Linked DNA regions of Homo sapiens: all the other regions are linked to region 3. Evidence: promoter capture Hi-C in human tissues and cell types (Jung and others, 2019). All regions are on one chromosome and are shown on one strand. Each heading gives the region's core, a stretch centred on a gene start or on the middle of the fragment in contact. The rest is flanking DNA. Distances are from core to core; before and after follow the strand shown.

The links. The method cuts DNA at HindIII sites, captures the fragments that hold promoters and counts their contacts. A contact is called where the count stands out against the background at its distance.
Region 1: the fragment with the promoter of AURKB here is called in contact with the fragment with the promoter of SPDYE4 in region 3 in 1 of the 25 tissues and cell types used here (neural progenitor cells).
Region 2: a fragment that was not itself captured here is called in contact with the fragment with the promoter of SPDYE4 in region 3 in 1 of the 25 tissues and cell types used here (lymphoblastoid cells).

Annotation. Positions count from the first base shown.
Region 1 is chr17:8,208,715-8,212,281 of GRCh38, reverse strand. AURKB (aurora kinase B) reads left to right here and starts at 1,707. Exons shown (of 9, transcript NM_004217.4): 1 at 1,707-1,752; 2 at 2,033-2,105. The coding sequence starts at 2,058. RefSeq lists enhancers at 2,205-2,254, 1,816-2,475. The HindIII fragment of the contact is 18,109 bases long and covers 1-3,567 here.
Region 2 is chr17:9,539,659-9,543,205 of GRCh38, reverse strand. The region is part of intron 4 of STX8 (syntaxin 8); the gene reads left to right. Among named protein-coding and RNA genes, the nearest start is that of STX8, 34 kb to the left of the region's middle. The HindIII fragment of the contact is 5,742 bases long and covers 1-3,547 here.
Region 3 is chr17:8,757,144-8,760,356 of GRCh38, reverse strand. It overlaps SPDYE4 (speedy/RINGO cell cycle regulator family member E4), which reads left to right and starts at 1,811. Exons shown (of 7, transcript NM_001394956.1): 1 at 1,811-2,083; 2 at 2,865-3,095. The coding sequence starts at 1,975. The HindIII fragment of the contact is 5,925 bases long and covers 1-3,213 here.

The sequences.
Region 1 (3,567 bases), core at 458-2,957, 550 kb after region 3:
ATCTATATCATTTGTAATACACTTTATGATAAACCAGTAAACGTTAAGTGTTTCCTTGAGCTGCCCAGCATTCTGAGCAAGAAACTGATTCCCACTAGCTGGCCCACTTAAATCACAGGCTTATGCCTGATCCAATAACCATAATCTGGAATAAAAGGTATTGATTAGTATAAGTTAATTGGGGCTCATTTCTGGACCTGCAATGAAGTCAGTTTCCTTCTCAAATCCTCAAAACTCTAAGTGCTTTCAGAAGTGGGAATAAAGCTGGGCGCAGTGGCTCACGCCTGTAATCCAAGCACTTTGGGAGACCAAGGCGGGCGGATCACCTGAGGCCAGCCTGAGCAATGTGATGAAACCCCGTCTCTACTAAAAATACAAAAATTAGCCGGGCGTGGTCACATGCACCTATAATCCTAGGTACTCGGGAGGCTGAGACAGGAGAATCAGTTGCACCCTGGAGGAGGAGGTTGTGGTGAGCTGAGATTGTGCCATTGCACTCCAGCCTGGGCAACACAGCGAATCTTCATCTCAAAAAAAAAAAAAAAAGTGAGATTTAAATAGGTCTTCATCAACCTAGGGATTTGGGGTTGTCAGCAACAGAAACTACTACAGAAACCGACTGCATAGACTGGAGAGACAGGTGGTCCCCTAAAGGAAAAATAGAGTGTTAGAAGAAAGGAGAAGAGTGCTGGACAGTACATACTTAATAAATATCCACTGGTTATTTCATAGAAGGCCCAAAAATGTATTTATTTAACCCAGTAATGAAATCTGAGGGTTAGGAAGAGCAGAAAAGAAGGAAGTGTGGCAGGAAGGAGGAAAAATGAAAGTGGGCCCAAACAACACGGCAGCTAACAGAGATCTTGCAACGAAAGGTCTATTGGTGGAAAAACTCCTCCCAGGAATGTCAGAACTTTTAAGAACGACATAGTAATGACACAAGAATAAACACACAGGCAAATGAGCAAACAACGGAATACAAAGTCTAGAAATAGACACAAGTAAATATGCTAACATTATATATCAAGGGCAGCATTTAAATTCTGTTGGGGCAGTTTGTTTAACAAATGGTGTTGACATAACTGGCGCTCCATCGGGCAGAGAAGTTAGACCCCAGCTCATACATGCATAAGGATAAACTCCAGTTACATTAAAGATTTAATTTTTTTTATAAAAAGAAGAAGGCCGGGCACGGTGGCTCACGCCTGTAATCCCAGCATTTTGGGAAGCCGAGGCGGGTGGATCACCTGAGGACAGGAGTTCGAGACCAGATTGGCCAACACAGCGAAAACCCGTCTCTAATAAAAATACAAAAATTAGCCAGGCGTGGTGGCGGGCGCTTGTAATCCCAGCTACTCGGGTGGCTGAGGCACGAGAATCGCTTGAACCCGGGAGGCAGAGGTTGCAGCAAGCCCAGATAGCACCATTATACTCCAGCCTGAGCGACAGAGAGAGACCTGTCTCAAAAAAGGAAAAAAAAAAAGAAAAGAAAAAGCAAGATAATTCACTGGGGGAATTTGGGGAAACTTTCCTAAACTGGAAGCCAAGCGTGAGCCCTTCTCATTCCGCCTCTTCCATTGGGTTCCCATGACTTACGTCACAGGACATCGAGCCAATGGGAACTAGGCATGGGCGACGAGCTTGCCCAATGGGGCCGGGGCGGGAGATTTGAAAAGTCCTTGGCCAGGGCGCGGCGTGGCAGATTCAGTTGTTTGCGGGCGGCCGGGAGAGTAGCAGTGCCTTGGACCCCAGGTGAGCTGGCCTCCTGTCGCAGGCCTTGCGCCGGGAGTGGGCAGATGATCAGGTAGATCAGAGGGTCCGTTGGGCTGGCCTGCGCGCACGCCGCAGGGCTGGAAGGAGGTAGGGACGATAGCAGGGCGGGGGCGGTGAGACCAGCGCCCAGATTGGGGCTAGTGTGCTGACCTGCTCCCTTTTACCAGCTCGGGCTAGCGCTTCCGGCTCGATCGGTCCAACCCCTCCCTCTCTCTCTCTTTTTCTCTGCTTCTCACGGCTGTTTCCCTTCTCCGCCCAGCTCTCCTCCCCCTTTCTCTCTAAGGATGGCCCAGAAGGAGAACTCCTACCCCTGGCCCTACGGCCGACAGACGGTAAGGCCCTTCCCTCCGTCCCTGCGCCCCCATGACCCCGCATGGCGAGTTCCTGCTGGGAAACTTGAGATCCTGCAATGAGCAATCCTTTAAGCACTTTCTTCCCCGTTATGCTCCAAAGTACGGGTCCCAAGTTTGACGACAGAACCCGCTCTGGTCATTTGTAGCCACATCCTGTCAGGTGCTGCCAACGTGAATCTGACCAGCCAGTGACTCCCAGCTGGTGAGGACCTCTGCAGGGCTCGTCACATACAAATGATATCTGGGACTGAGCAGGCAGGGCCTGGCCTTCAGGCCATGATTCCCAATCCATATCCTGAAAAAAAAAAAACTAGACAGCAAATAGAAATAGACTCTAAAAGGATATAAAGTTACAGTTTAAAAGGCCCAGGGCAAGTCTAAATTACAATTTGGAATTAATGACTAAATTGAGGTAAGAATCTAAATGGATCTAAATTGACTTATTTCCCAATGGTCCAGACAGATTTCATTGAAGGGCCTCCTCTCTGATTTGAAATGCCACCTTTATTATATATATAAATTCCCACATATATGTGGGTCTATTTCTGGACTGTATTTTATTCAACTTGCTTATTTGTAGATTGGTACCAATATCACTATTTGGGGCCTAGGGGCTTTCTTCTCTTGGCTGCAGAAGAAGGAAGGGGCCCTGCACAGGCTTTGCTCCCTGTTTTTGGAGCTCTTGCTTCCTGGAGAGTCTGTCTGTTCCCTTGTACATCAGCTCCCTCCCTCATGGAGCACTGAGTGAGGCTGTCAGGAATGGAGTCTGAATGAGAAACCATTGTCACTTTTACCTTAGTCACTCCTAAAAGAAAATGTACCTATTATTTTGAGAGTTGAAAGTGAGGCCAGGTAGGTGGCTCACGCCTGTAATCCCAGCACTGGGAGGCTGAGGCAGGTGGATCACCTGAGGTCAGGAGTTCGAGACCAGCCTGGCCAACATGGTAAAACCCCGTCTCTACTAAAAATACAAAAATTAGCCAGGCATGTGCCTGTAATCCCACCTACTCAGGAGGCCGAGGCAGGAGAATTGCCTGAACCTGGGAGGTGGAGGTTGCAGTGAGCCGAGATGGCACCATTGCACTCCAGCCTGGGTAATAGAGCGAGACTCCATCTCAAAAAAAAAAAAAAATGAAGAAGTTGAAAGTGAGAAGTGGTCCAGGGCCATCAGGGTAGCTCTTAGTGTCCTTAAAGCCTGTTCTTGCAAAAGTGTAAATCCTGGTTATTGCTATAACATTCAAGGCCTCAAGCATCTTATCTAAGCCTTAATAAACTAAGCTTTTTAGGAGACTTTGAGAATACCTCTGTGCTAAACCCCTTGAATTGTGGGTGTTCATTGACGCAGCTCTCTACTGTGGTGTAAGTGAGGGGCTGGATGAATGACTGTGTTGTTATGGACAGGACTTATACAGGTTGAACAGCTTCATGCCTGAAAAGTGTG
Region 2 (3,547 bases), core at 940-3,439, 780 kb before region 3:
TCATGGAGGAATAGTGGTCATGTAGACAGATGATGGTCAGAAAGAGGACAAAACATTCAGACTATTCTGCTTGGTAGTGATGAGGCAGTCGTGATGAATAGTCATGGTTCCCATTTGAGAAGAGCATGTTTTGCACCAGACTCTGCTCTTTGCTTCTCATTAATTGTGCCACTTAATGATGCTGAAGGGGCCAACCTAGGAATTTAGGCTGAGGACCTCTGAAGTCTTCCCACCAGGTCCTTGTTTGTTTTGTTAGTTTTTGGTCCCCGCTTGCCTGCCTTTGTCACCCCTCTTCTCTGATCATCTCTGTGTCCTTTACAGTGTGACTTGCTGATAAGCAGCATCAGCATCACCTGGCAGTGTGTTACAAACTCAGAATTTTCCAACCCGAACCCCAAACTACAGAATTAAAACTTGCATTCTAACAAGATCATCAGGTGATTTGAATGCACATTACAATTTAAGAAATAACTGCTTTGTATCATTTATTCCTTATTTATTTATTTATTTATTTATTTATTTATTTTTTGAGATGGAGTCTTGCTCTGTCGCCCAGGCTGGAGTGCAGTGGCGCAATCTTGGCTCACTGCAAGCTCCGCCTCCCAGGTTCACACCACTCTCCTGCCTCAGCCTCCCGAGTAGCTGGGACTACAGGCGCCCGCCACCATGCCCGGCTAATTTTTTGTATTTTTAGTAGAGACAGGGTTTCACCATGTTAGCTAGGATGGTCTCGATTTCCTGACCTCGTGATCTGCCTGCCTCGGCCTCCCAAAGTGCTGGGATTACAGGCGTGAGCCACAGCTCCCGGCCCTTGTTTTTTTGTTGTTGTTTTTGTTTGTTTTGTTTTTGAGACGGAGTTTTGCTGTGTCACCCAGGCTTGAGTGCAGTGGCACAATTTCAGCTCGCTGCAACCTCCGCCTCCCGAGTTCAAGTGATTCTCCTGCCTCAGCCTCCCGAGTAGCTGGGATCACAGGCACGCACTACCACGCCTGGCTAATTTTGTATGTTTGGTAGAGATGAGGTTTTACCATGTTGGCCAGGCTGGTCTTGAACTCCTGACCTCAGGTGATCTGCCTGCCTCAGCCTCCCAAAACGCTGGGATTACAGCCATGAGCCACTACACCTGGCCTGTGTCATTTATTCTTAATCGTGGCACTTTGCATCAGAATCACCCAAGAGAGAATGGAAAAAAAAAAAAAAATACAAATGTTTAGACCATGTACTTGCAGAGTCTGATTCATAGTCTTGGGTGAGGCCTGGGCAGCAGTAAGGCTGGGGAGACTACCGGGTGGTTTTAGTAGGTGGCAGGGTTAGAACGACTGCTCTATGTCACAGTGTACTAGTCATGAGACCTATAGCTTATGTCTGCTATTTGTTTTTTATATGGTAGGCACTGTGCTAAGCTCTTTATGTGCATTTGCTCAGGAGCTCTTTATAATGCCCCATTTTGCAGAAGAGAAACAGGCTCAGAGGGTTCAAGATTCTAAAGCTAATCAGTCATAGAACTTGGATTTTAGCTCTGAACTTGTAACCATTGCACCATAAAAAGAGCTGGATGAGGTGTTAGAAGGACCCAGTTCTGTAGCTTTCTAGTCTGTCAGTCATGTGGGCTTTGAAGTCATTGACCTTAGACTGGGGATACATGTGCTGCCCATTTTTCGTTGTTGTTAGGACCAGATGAAGTGATTGCTATGAGACAGGCTTTGTAAACTCTAAGACCTTTATAAATACAAGATGTTATTACTGGAGCATTGTGTCTCCATCCGGCTAGGAGGGAACTCAGGCTGCCTCATTGCTTCGGAGATCTTCTGTCCCTCGTGCCCTGCCCCCTGATTGCTCTAGAAGGACGTGGTCTGTCTGACCCCATCATACGCTGCACCTGGTCCTCTGCCCTCCATTCTCCTCTTCCACATCTCATTTGTTCCGTGTCTGCTTCCCTCCGTGCCCAGCTTGCTGCCTATTGTCTTATTAGTGAACAATCTCATGTTAATTCTAGCAGTGGAATCAACGGCTGCCAATGTCTTGTCTTCTGGAGGTATTTTCACCGAAACCTCCTTAAACCCTAGGATTGAAACCACAGTGAATTAGTTGATGGGAATGTTTAGGGAATTTGGCAGGTTAGTGTCAGGTGGTTTTTTTGGATGGAGGCCTTCTGAGGACCTCTTGGGTCCTGCCACTGGGACTGCCTTCTGCTCTTCATGCCCATAAGGCTGATCCATGTGGTGGACTAAAGCTGTTGCTTGTTGGTGTGTTGGTGAATGGCTGAGTGGCATGGGGACAGAGATCATACTGGGGAGACACTGTCAAGCAAAGGTAACTGAATCCCTGAGGGTTGAAATAAAGTTACTGGCCAGACTTATTTACATGCTCTCAAGATGAAACCAAGGGCAACATAGAGATTGGTGTATCTTTTCTGTTCAGGACCAGAAGTCTAGGATGGTTCAGAATAAGGTTCTAGAAGAATTCTGTTTAAAAATAATGTAAGTACTGTCAAGGAGAAATGACTCCTGTGGAGTGATTTGGAGAAGGTAGACGTGGACATAACACACAATGATGGTCCGTTCTGGATGACATGGAGTCTGGCCAAGAGCGGGAAACCAATGTGGCGACTGGACATTGAGCACCATGAAGAAAGAAAATCATTGCAGATACAGAGAGGAAGGAGAATGATGTCGGTGGCCTGGAAGGTGAATTTCTCATTCACTTCCATTGGTGATTCCTTGTTGGGCTAGGATTGCTTTAGACCCAACACCGTAACGGGAACATGTCCGCATATGCTTGTCCAAAAAGTGCAAGTCCTGTAGACATTCCAGAGAAGTCTGATCAATAAGAAAATTCATACTAGACAAAAGCACTCTCATAAGCTATGTAGAAAAGTCCCCGGGAAATCTGCTCAAGGGCCATGAGAACAAATACCCAGCTAGCTAGCGTTGCTCCAACTAGTCAGGGAAGATGGCACCATGTGGACCTATCGAGGACCAGCAAGAAGTGTATGGAGGAGTGAATGCTAAAGCTGAAGTGGACTGCTGGAAGTGGATTTTCTTAGATTTGAGGTCAGAGTTGCTGTTGTTTGATTTCCTTCACCTGCCTATGTAAGAGTATTATTTTTGCCTTCTTTACTCCTAATCCCCATCCTTGAGACCTCCCCTTCTTTCCCCAACTTCTCATACCTAATAGTTCTCTTGTTGGACCTAGCCTTCCAAGGACTTTAATTCAGTTGTAAACATGACTTGTTCATTATATGACATGTTCAATTACAATTCGATTGTATCCCCTTCCCTCCTGATTGTCAGTTGCCTAGTCATTTCTAATACCAACTCTTAGGGAACGCTCAGCTCTATCTATCTTTGGAGAAACTCATTCCTTTCTCTGCCAGTTGGTTTCTGTAGTATCTCCAATGACTTGCAGAGATTTCCTTAGTCCTCTCTACAGTTAATTCCTAGTTCTAGGCTCCTCCAACATTTTCGTTTGCTTCTCTAATCTCTGGATTCCTCCAGCATTTTTCTTTGCTTCTGTAGTTCTTGGTTTTGGGGTGGGGGGGGTCAGT
Region 3 (3,213 bases), core at 562-3,061:
CAACGTTACTCAGACTCATCTCCAACTCCTGGGTTCAAGTGATTCTCCAGCCTTGGCCTCCCAAAGTGTAGGGATGACAGGCAGGAGCCACCATGCCAGCCAATAAAGCCCTTCTGTTTCACTCTAATGATATCTTTGGTGCATAGCTACAGCCATTGTTGTATTAACCTGCATCACTGAAGGAAAAGAGAAGGGGAGAAGTGATAGTTTTGCTTTTCCCTGAACATATCAGATGAAACCTGAACTGTTTAGCTCATTTTTGGACAATGTATTGACATAATTTAAGATGGCTGCCTTATTGTAGCCTGTCTACAGAAGGTGCCTAGAAGACAGAGGAATATGTAAAACTGGCTTGAAGAGTGATTAATCAGAACTTTACGTGGTACAGAAGAGAAATTTTAATGGCAACAGAATATTGATCTTCTAATGTTTGAAAGCCTATTAAATAGGAGAGAAAGATGATTTTCTGTTTTGTTGTAAAAGGATCCAACCAGTTCTGATGGTTGAAAGCATCGTGAATGCGAAGGTCCACTCAATGTAAGCAGAGTTTCCTAACAATTGGACTTCCACAGCGACGGGATCTGCCTCCTCATTCAGTTGTGCCTTTCCCATCAGCGAGAGACTCCTAGGAGCCCATTAGGAAGCTGTGCCAGAACTCACAGGTTCTTTGGATGGTATCTGAGATAGTATCCAGCTCTTACATTTTTATTTTTTCCGAAAAAAATATTTTTGAGACTGAGTCTCACTCTGTCCTCCAGGCTGGTGTGCAGTGGTGCAATCATAGCTCACTGCAGCCTCAAACACTTGGGCTGAAGCAATCCTCCTGCCTCAGCCTCCCAAGTACTGGGACCACAGGTGTGTGCCACGATTCCTGATTACTTTGTTTATATTTTGTAGAGATGACGTTTTGCTATGTTGCCCAGACTAATCTTGAACTCCTAACCTCAAGTGACGCCCTGCCTTGGCCTCCCAAAGGAGGGAGATTATGAGCAGGAGCCCCTGGGCCTGGCTGAGATTTTCCCCTTAGTCTTTTTATACACAGGATATTTTATTCATAAAATACATAAATAGTAGGCAAATTTTGGGGTCAAGTGAAATAGATATGTTGTAATAGTTGATATATAGACCAGAGTTCCTTAGCTGAACTGGAGGGCAGGCTTTAGGTGATCCATGGATGCCCTGAACTTGTGGACACCATTGAAAATCTGTACGAAACCATGGACAGTCTCCTGTGATTTTCATTCCTCAAAATGTCTCTTGGACTCAAAGATGCCTGAGAGCAAAGGATGCATGTTCCCCTACTATAGGATCCAGGATAGTGAATATCAGTAAACATTCAGCAAAAAAGCTTTGCCACATTGAGTACTTCGACGTAACGTCTCCATTCAACAAGTCAATTTACCCAGGATCTCCTGTATATGTTAATCTCACTCTTGGAAGGACTCATCATTCTGCTTACCCTAAATTTCCTTCCACCTTCCTCCCTCTCTCACCAGACTAGACTCTGAAATGGGAAGGAGAAGCGGGGAGGAGAGCCCAACACCCCCTCAAGTTTAGAGTGGAGAGGACACAGCCTCTGCTGGGACAGGGAAAAGAGGAATGTGGAGACCCTGAGGATGCTTTTGGACAATGCTCAGAGGTTGGGACATTGCCAGGAGATACCGTTCACCCCGGATCTCCAAGAAAAGAGATCAGTCTGGCAGTTACATGTGTTTTTCTTCAAAGTAGTTGCCAGTTTGGAATGACCGATGACATCAGAGATTCCGACTTTCCTGATTGGAAGGACCGGACTCTGGTTGCTTGGGAGTTCAGGTGGACAACAGCAACTTCTCAGAACTACTCTTCACTCCTAACTTCTCCCGAGCCTCTAGAAGAGAAACGCACTCTTCTGGGTCCTAACGGAGTCTGGAAGAAGGCTTTGGACAGAACAGGGACTAGGTTTTGTGGACAGAAACAAAGTGTTTGGGAGAGATTATGGCCAGTGGTCAAGCGCGCCCCCCGTTTGAGGAGGAGAGCCCCCAGCCTAGCACAACGGTACGGTCCCCCGAGGTGGTGGTGGATGATGAAGTGCCAGGACCATCAGGTGAGGTGACTGGAGGGAGAAGCGATGGGAGATGATTGACTGAGGAGAGGGAAGGGGGCCAGTTACTGGGAATCTGAAGCACCTGAGTAGGGTGTGTGGGAAAGAAACGACGGACTCAGGAAGCCAGGGATCGGGGAAGGAGGGTGCAGGGAATGGGGCCAAGCATGGCCACGTGTAAAGAAAGTCTGGGGAGCAATGAAGGGGGTCAGGAGATGTGCTCAAAAGATGAGAGAGGAAGGCCGAGGCGGACGGATCACGAGGTCAGAAGATCGAGACCATCCTGGTTAACACGATGAAACCCTGTCTCTACCAAAAATACAAAAGTGAGTTGGGCATGGTGGTGCGTGCCTGTAGTCCCAGCTACTCAAGAGGCTGAGGCAGGAGAATCATTTGAACCCAGGAGGCGGAGGTTGCAGTGAACCAAGATTGTGCCACTGCACTCCGGTCTGGGCAACAAGAGGGAGACTCCATCTCAAAAAAAAAAAAAAGAGAGAGAGAGAGAGAGAGCAGACAGAGCTCAAGGGAAGGTTTCCATTTTTCTCCAATTGAAAGTTCTTATCTGTGATGAGGAAATGTTTTGAGGACAGAGAGCCGGAAGAATGGGGAGGTGAGGGAGAGGCAGATGGGGATCAGCAAAGGAGAAAGGTGGAAACATGGCTTGGAGAAGCTGACAGTCTGCGAGGCTTGGGAGGATGGAAGAGTAGTTTGAGGTTCCTGGGTCGGGGCGTCTAAGGTGATCAATGGCAGAAACATGACACCATGGCCTGGTTTCTTCACTCAGCCCCTTGGATAGATCCCAGCCCCCAGCCTCAATCCCTTGGCCTGAAAAGGAAGAGCGAATGGTCAGACGAATCCGAGGAGGAGCTGGAGGAGGAGCTGGAGTTGGAGCGCGCCCCTGAGCCCGAGGACACCTGGGTGGTGGAGACGCTGTGTGGGCTCAAGATGAAGCTGAAGCGAAAGCGAGCATCCTCCGTGCTCCCTGAGCACCACGAGGCCTTCAACAGGCTCCTTGGTAGGAGGATACCCCAAAAAGCACCTCCAACCCTGTTCTTTTAAAAAAGTGGAATCTTTCAATAATCACACTTTCCCAATAAGAAGAATATGCCCTCCTGGGGGATGAGCGCTCCATG